Linked DNA regions of Homo sapiens: region 1 is linked to region 2. Evidence: promoter capture Hi-C in 16 types of primary human blood cells and fetal thymus (Javierre and others, 2016). All regions are on one chromosome and are shown on one strand. Each heading gives the region's core, a stretch centred on a gene start or on the middle of the fragment in contact. The rest is flanking DNA. Distances are from core to core; before and after follow the strand shown. Region 1 holds the start of RPS3 (ribosomal protein S3). Region 2 holds the start of MOGAT2 (monoacylglycerol O-acyltransferase 2).

What was found. Contacts are between HindIII fragments. The CHiCAGO score rates a contact against its expected background, and 5 or more counts as called.
Region 1: a contact is called between the fragment with the promoter of RPS3 here and the fragment with the promoter of MOGAT2 in region 2, in 2 of 17 cell types (erythroblasts and megakaryocytes). The highest score is 7.3, in erythroblasts.

Annotation. Positions count from the first base shown.
Region 1 is chr11:75,397,097-75,400,993 of GRCh38, reverse strand. It overlaps RPS3 (ribosomal protein S3), which reads right to left and starts at 1,476. Exons shown (of 7, transcript NM_001005.5): 1 at 1,417-1,476; 2 at 170-300. The coding sequence starts at 1,446. It overlaps SNORD15A (small nucleolar RNA, C/D box 15A), which reads right to left and starts at 603; the gene lies at 456-603. RefSeq lists enhancers at 50-913, 1,140-1,499. The HindIII fragment of the contact is 4,256 bases long and covers 1-3,001 here.
Region 2 is chr11:75,716,082-75,719,758 of GRCh38, reverse strand. It overlaps MOGAT2 (monoacylglycerol O-acyltransferase 2), which reads right to left and starts at 1,921. Exons shown (of 6, transcript NM_025098.4): 1 at 1,780-1,921. The coding sequence starts at 1,870. LOC105369392 (a long non-coding RNA gene) reads left to right here and starts at 1,474. Exons shown (of 3, transcript XR_950316.4): 1 at 1,474-1,553. The HindIII fragment of the contact is 5,505 bases long and covers 1-3,677 here.

The DNA of each region.
Region 1 (3,897 bases), core at 227-2,726, 320 kb after region 2:
GGAGAATGGCGTGAACCCGGGAGGCGGAGCTTGCAGTGAGCCGAGATCGCGCCACTGCACTCCAGCTTTGGGGACAGAGCAAGACTCCGTCTCAAAAAAATAAATAAATAAATAAACCAACTTAGCATTTATAACAATTATAGGTGATGGCCAGTCAAATGAGTTTTACCTGGTGGCTAAGATAATGATTTCTGTCCTGGTTGGTGTAACTCGCACCTCAACTCCAGAGTAGCCATCTTCAGCCAGCTCCCGAGTAAGAAACTCATTCAGTTCAGCTTTGAAGATGCCATCAGCGACAAACTAATCCAAACAAAGCAAAGTTCAAAATTAGGAGATCGGTGTAGGCTCACTTTCGCCTGAGCCAGTCTAGTCTTATTAGTCAATGCATCCCTCACCAAAACTAAATACCTCCAACCAATGGTTCCAAACCCTTGTTCCAACAGGAGTGCAGCAACCCTTCTCAGACAAATGCCTCTAAGTCATCTTTAGGAAATTACTTCAACCAGGGCTCTTTAAACTGTGCCACAGAACGCAGCACAGAGTAGGCCACCTGGGCAAAGAGAACATCCCCAAGTCAGACTCGTCATCATCTCTTCATCGAAGGGTTTAAAACAGTTCCACATGCAAAACAAGAAACTGCTCTAATGGCCTATTTACACTTCATTCAGCACAGCAAAGACACTGTACTTGTCACTGTTAAGGAATAGATAGTAGACTTAACATATAAGCTCTCTCACTTGTAGACACAACCTGCACCGTCTAAAGAATCCCAGCCATGTTATTTGGCTTTACGGTACCAACAGAGCTGGCAAATCCTAACTCTCGAGAAGTTGTGGATTTAATTTTGACATCGAAGTGTATATACGAAATGACAAACTGTCTATTTTTAAAGCTAATGATTTTTACACAGTTCTATCCCATGTAATGACAAGGCGTTAAATCCGAGGCAGCTTCCTCCCGGGGTCCCCAGACGGAGCAAGCAACCGTCAGCAACCCTTCAAGTTGAGGTCCTGGGGCCAGCGGACTGTACCCAGAAACGACCAGTTAAGGCAAGAATACACTGCTGCCTTCTCTTCCCAAAACCACGGGATAAGACATGAGGGAAATGACACACGCCCTCAAAATACCACGTTTACTAATTCCGTTGACCGACAAATGCTCACAAACGCCTTCTCCGGGACAGAAGGGGCGCCTGGTGCCCATCTCTCTGCGCTTCACTTGGAACCCGGCCACACAGCGCCCTCCTGGCTGGGGCCTCTCACTCAATCCACCGCCATCCGCGGCCCGCAGGAACGCCAGGAAGCCTAGGCCGCTTCCAGGGCAGGCCACGGAGCTGCAGGCCTCGCGGTGGCACCCCGAGAAGCCCTCGACCCGCGCGGCGCCGTCGTTCTCCGAACCCAGTCCCCAGAGGCTCACCTTCCTCTTCTTGGATATTTGCACTGCCATCTTGCCGCCGCGCTCCGCTGAAAGGAAAGGAAGTGGCTCGCGGGCGGAAGTGAGTATAAAGGGCGCGAGCGACGACGGAGGGCTGCGCTGCGTGCACGCCTGTGGGTGCTCATGGGAAATGTAGTTTTTACGTAAGTAAGGCGTCCAGGGAAAGAAGAATGTAGGCAGGAACAGGAAAGGGGCTTCATCCAGCAGGACTTCTAAACTTCAGGGGACCTTAGAGTTCAATTCTCATAGTTTCAAAACAAGCAATGTGAGGTGCAGAGGTGGAAATTACAGGTATAAGTTCACACAGCAAGAGAGATTAACCAGCGTGGAACTCTGGCCCCTACACTTTCAGGGTGGACACTGTAATGAAAATCTGCTGAAATCCCTCAGTGAAACTCATTTAAGACTCCTCTTTGGGAGGCCAAGGCGGGCGGATTACTTGAGGTCAGGAGTTCGAGATTAGCCTGGCGAACATGGTGAAACCCCGTCTCTACTAAAAATAGAAAAATTAGCTGGGAGTGGTGTCGGGCACCTGTAATCCCAGCTACTCGGGAGGCTGAGGTGGGAGGATTGCTTGGACCTGGGAGATGGAGGTTGCAGTGGGCCAAGATCCTACCACTGCACTCTAGCCTGGACCACAGAGTGAGACTCTGTCTCAAACAAACAAACAAACAAACAAACAAAACAACTCATGTCCCCCAGTCTGTACCCATTTCCTCCATTCCAAATGATAATAATAAAACCTGATACTTACTAAGTGTCCTAGGGACTGCGTTCTGTGTCCTTTATGTTGTTCTCATTTACCCCACCTTACTTTCATCAAGTCCATTACAATTTGTAACAGAAGTCCCAGAAGGTCCCATGGGCCCGCCCTTCCTTCCTTCCTTCCTTCCTTCCTCTCTCTTTCTCTCTCTCTTTCTCTCCTTTCTTTCTTTTCTCTCCGGTTGCCCAAGCTGGAGTGCAGTAGTACGATCTCAGCTCCCTGCAACCTCCACTTCCCAGGTTCAAGTGATTCTTCTGCCTTGGCCTCCTGAGTAGCTGGGATTACAGGTGCACACCACCACACCCAGCTAATTTTTGTATTTTTAGTAGAGATGAAGTTTCACTATGTTGGCCAGGCTGGTCTTGAACTCCTGACCTCAAGTGATCCACCTGCCTTAGCCTCCCAGAGTGCTGGGATTACAGGCATGAGCCACCGTGCCTGGCCTTCTTTTTCAATTAAAAAAAATTCTAGCCAGGTGCAGTGGCTCAGGCCTGTAATCTTAGCACTTTGGGAGGCCAAGGCAAGTGGATAGCTTGAGGCCAGAAGTTTGAGACCAGTCTGGGCAACAGAATGAGACACCCTCATCTCTATGAAAAGTGAAAAAAGAAAATTATCCAGGTGTGGTGGTGTGTGCCTGTAGTCCCAGCTACTCTGGAGGGAGATGTGAGAGGATTGCTTGAGTACAGGAGGTCTAGGCTGCAGTGAGCCGTGATTGTGCCACTGCACTCAGCCCGGGCAACAGAGTGAGACTCAGTCTAAAAAAAATAAAAAATTAAAAATGTCCCTTCATTTTTTAATGAAGCTTACAGAACAGTTGAAAAAACTGTACGTGTATGCATCACCAAGCTGAGGGGGAATTGAGAATGATGCTACAATTAATATTTTGCTGTTGCTTTATCGTGGATCTACTCATCCCTGTAGCCACCCACCAATACATCTTTTGAGGCATTTCAAAGTAAGTTGCAGACATTGGTAAACTTTACCCCTAAACACTTCAATAACAGTTTTATTTTATTTATTTATTTATTTTTGAGACGAAGTCTTACTCTGTTGCCTAAGCTGGAGTGCAGTGGTGCGATCGCCGCTCACCGTAACCTCCACCTCCCGGGTTCAAGCGATTCTCCTGCCTCAGCCTCCTGAGTAGCTGGGACTACAGGCAAGCACCGCCATGTCCAGCTAATTTTCATATTTTTAGTAGAGATAGGGTTTCACTATGTTGGCCAGGCTTGTCTTGAACTCCTAACCTTGTGATCCGCCCACCTCGGCCTCCAAAAGTGCTGGGATTACAGGCGTGAGCCACCGCACCCAGCCAACAGTTTTATTTTAAGTTTGAATAGTTTTCTTCATTTAAAAGTCAGGGTATTTCTCTCTAAAACTATTTTAGGTTTTTCTTAAGGATATAGAAATATCTAGCAAAATAGTGAACCCACATTTCTTCATGGGCAGTGCTCTCCTTTCCTGTTACACAAAAAGAGTCTTTCCAAGGTGCCACACTCCCTGGCAGCACCACTCAGTTATTTTCTGGTCCTAGAAGCCATTGGAGTGTTTAACTCCAGCTCTAAAACAACTCTGATGTAAAGTGACCTGTCCTATAATCACGGAATTAACAGAGTTCTGTGGTTGCTGAGCAGAGGGACCAGGGAAGATGACAAAAAGTGGATGGGCGCGGTGGCTCATGCCTGTAATCCCAGCACTTTGGG
Region 2 (3,677 bases), core at 672-3,171:
AACTCCAAAGCTCACTTTCTCCCACTGCACCAGGCCGCCTAATTCACTCCATCCCCTGCCTGTCCTCCTTCTCCCCAGGAGAGTTGTTTGTACTCATTAAGTGCTCAATCAATGGGGACAACTGGTTGGATAAACTGTTCTAGTTTCCATCTTTTGGGATCTCAGAGCAAAGGGAGACCCTTTCCTGCTCTCTTTCTGTTCATCCTCTGCCCCATTTTCCCAGAGATAAATCCAGCCAGGTGCCTCCCCTTATTCAAGCCCTTCATGACTTCCCCATAACTTTGGGCACAGTCCAAGTAGCTCAGCCTGGCCTCCAGGAGCCCCAGAGCTGGCCCTGTCCCTCCCGCTCCTGCCTCTTGTCTGTGGCCACTCTGAACTACACAGTGTTCCCAAACCTGCTGAGCTCTGATTCCTTTGCCTTCAGTGACCAGTGACGTTTGTTGTTGAAAGGAGGGAGGGAGGAAGAGGCCAGCCCCTGGCCGCCCCATAATCAGGGGTGCATCAGGGCTAAGACCAGGCCTAGTGTGGAATTCCCCTCTGACTGATGGTTTCTCAGCCCTTACTGGAGGCAAATCCTTGATTGTTTGGCTCATCTGTGCAAAGGGGGTATACAGGAATGTGTAAAATGTCTAAAAACCCTTAGAACAGAGACACAGCTCAACCAGAAGGGATGCTAGGGCAGGGTCCTGGAGGGCCTGCTTTGCCAAGGGGGAGTTTTTTCACTACAGAATTGTGGGGGAGTTTCTGAGGAAGTACGTGTGTGTGTGTGTGTGTGTGAGAGAGAGAGAGAGAAAGAGAGATGGCTACTGAGCAATGTGTTCAGAGTGTGTCAATATTTTAACAACCAGGAGAGTGGTATCTGTGTACAGGCTGAACCTCAGCCCTGGAAGCAGCAGTTCCTACCTTGTCTGGTGCCAGCAGATGAAAGGAAAAACCCCACGGACTCCTAGTCATTCTCCCTTCCCAAGCCACAGATCCAGACCCTCCTAGAAAATGTTACCTTTGGCAGAGCTATTGTTTGGGCAAGGGTGATCTCTCTGGCCACAAATCAGTGGTGGGGTGGGTAAGGGGCCATGCTCATGCCCTCCAGTGTGAGCCCAGCCCAGGGTCCAGGCCAGGTCTGTGCCAAGCAGAGGTCAGCACATTTCTTCATTTCCTTCACAATAGCCCTGCAAGGCCAGCATTGTTGTCCCCGTTCTGCAGATGGTGAAGTCGAGGCTTGGAGAGGTCAGGCATGGGCTGGCTAAAGTCAGTTGCCCAGCTGAGTCTGACTCCGGGTTTCCTGGTACCCAGCATGCCCACTCCACAGTCCACTCTCAGTCTGCACCTTCTCCCCACCCTTCTTTTCTTTCCCTGTTTCTCTCACTTACCCTACTACCAGCCCCAGTTTCCTCCTCCCTGAGCGCACAGAAGGAAATCTCTCCTCTCTGAGCAGGCTGCAGAGCCCAGAACTTTCCCGTCATCGCCCAGAGGCTTTCCCACACCACTTGGCAGCCTGCAGACTGGTCTTCATCCAAGTGCCAAAGGAGAACCCACAGTGCAAGCCAGGAAGAGTAAGTAACCTGCCCAGAGCAGCAGACGGTGACTTCTACCCCACTCCACCCCCAAGAAGCCTCTGGGCAGGCCCAGGAGTTCTCTCTGGGCAGGGGCTCTGAGCGCAACAAAGCCCCCTTTAGGATAAATGTCTTGCCACCATCAATGTGCTGTGTGCACCTGGTGTGGCTGCTCTGCCCCACCTGAGTGCGGTGGTCTCCCGTCTTACAGTGCAGCCCAACTTACCCAGTGCCAAGAAGGAGAAGACAAACTGTAGGACAGCAAGTGTCTGCAGCCTGCGCTCCCACGGCATAAACAAGGGCGCGAACTCTACCATGCTGGCGGGTCAGCCTGGCTCCCGCAGGTTCTGTGAGCTCTGCTGTGGTCTGAGGCACCCACAGGTTTTTGTTCCCTCCCCAGGTTGTAGAAGCTGGCAGGGAGAGTGCCACACCCAGCCCAGCCCAGCCCAGCCCCAAGGCCTCCTTGCCCCTGCTGAGGCAGGAAATTCTATCCTACAAGAAACCTTTGAATCTACCTGCTGGAGCCTGGCTAAGGAAGGAGGAAGAGAAGGGGTTGTATAGCCTTTATCAACTTTCTCAGGCAATGCCTTATCTGCATGGCTGCCTTTCCCCAATTGCTTAAATCTTGTCCTTCCTATAACTAGGCAGGTGAAGCCCCAAGCATATGCAATCTCACCCCCTTCCCACCTATTCAATGACCTGGCCCCAAGGTCAATGGATAGGATAACCTTGTCCTGTCCATTGTTCCCCCTCCACACATATGCTGTACTAACTCCCACCTAAAAATCCCCACCCACACTGTGTCCTCCACCTCCTGCCCCATTTTTCTGCTCACTCACACAGCAAACTCTCGGAAGAGCTATCTTTCATGCCTTCCTGTCCTCACCTCCCATCTGTGGTACCACAAATGGTGGTCCACACTTCAGGTATCACCCTTCCACAAAACTGCCCTTGGCAAGTTCCCTAGTGACCTCCATGATGTTAAATCCAGTAATCAATTCTCAGATCTCATCCTGACCTATTGGCAGCATTAGATATGGTTGATCATTCCCGTTTCTTTGAAACCACTTGGCCTTTGGACACTATGCTCTCCCAGTTTTCTTCCTAGCTCTCTGGCTGCTCCCTTTGTGCCTCTCGTCTTTCACCAGGCCAGCTGTTCGAGTCCCCCTCCTCCACTCCATCCTCGGGACTTCTCTTTTCTCTCCAGTTTCTGCTCTCTGAGATCTCATCCAGGCTCACACCTTGCATTGTATTTACACAGCAAAGACTTCCAAATCTGCATCTGCAGCTCTGCTCCCTGGGGCTCTAAACTTGAATCTCTAGGTGGCTCCTTGACATCTTCACTTGAATGCCTGATAGGCACCTCCATCGTAGCATGTCTAAAGGTGAACTTGATTCCCTCCCCCACCTCCCTTCTGCCCCACTGACTCCTCCTCTGCTCTTTCCCATCTCAGTAAAGGGTAATGCCATTTACCCAGTTGCTCAGGCCAAAACCTGAGTCACACTAGATCCCTTCTGTTCTTCTCCATCCACCTCTACCAGTCACCATGTCCTATCAGTTCTTCTAAGTCCCTCCTTTTAAATGTCAACTTCAAATTGACGTATACCATACATACGGAAAAATGCACAAATCCTAAGCGGACAGAGAAATGTCTTTTCACAAAGTGAAAGTTATCACCACTCTGATCGACAAACAGAACTTACCTAGCACCCCTTCTGGCCTTGCCAGTCACTGCTCTCCTCCCTGTAGCTCAGCACCATCCTCATCTCTGTTCTTGAACTTTATGAAAACTGAATCATTTAGTGTATACTCTTTTGAGACATCATATGTGCCTGTATTGCCTTTGTTTTCATTGCTGTATAGCATTCCATTGTGTGAATATGCCACAAAGTGTCCATTTGGACGCTGACAGGCATTTGGGCTGTCACCTGTTTCTGGCTATTATGAATATTGCTGCTACGAACATTCCTGTACATGTCTTTCAGTACACATCTATACACATTTCTGTTGGGTATGTGCCTGGAAATAGAATTGATGGGTCTCATGGTAGATAGCCATAGAGTTTTCCAAAGTGGTTGTACAAATCTACACTCCCATAGCCTTATATAAGAATTCCGAGTTCT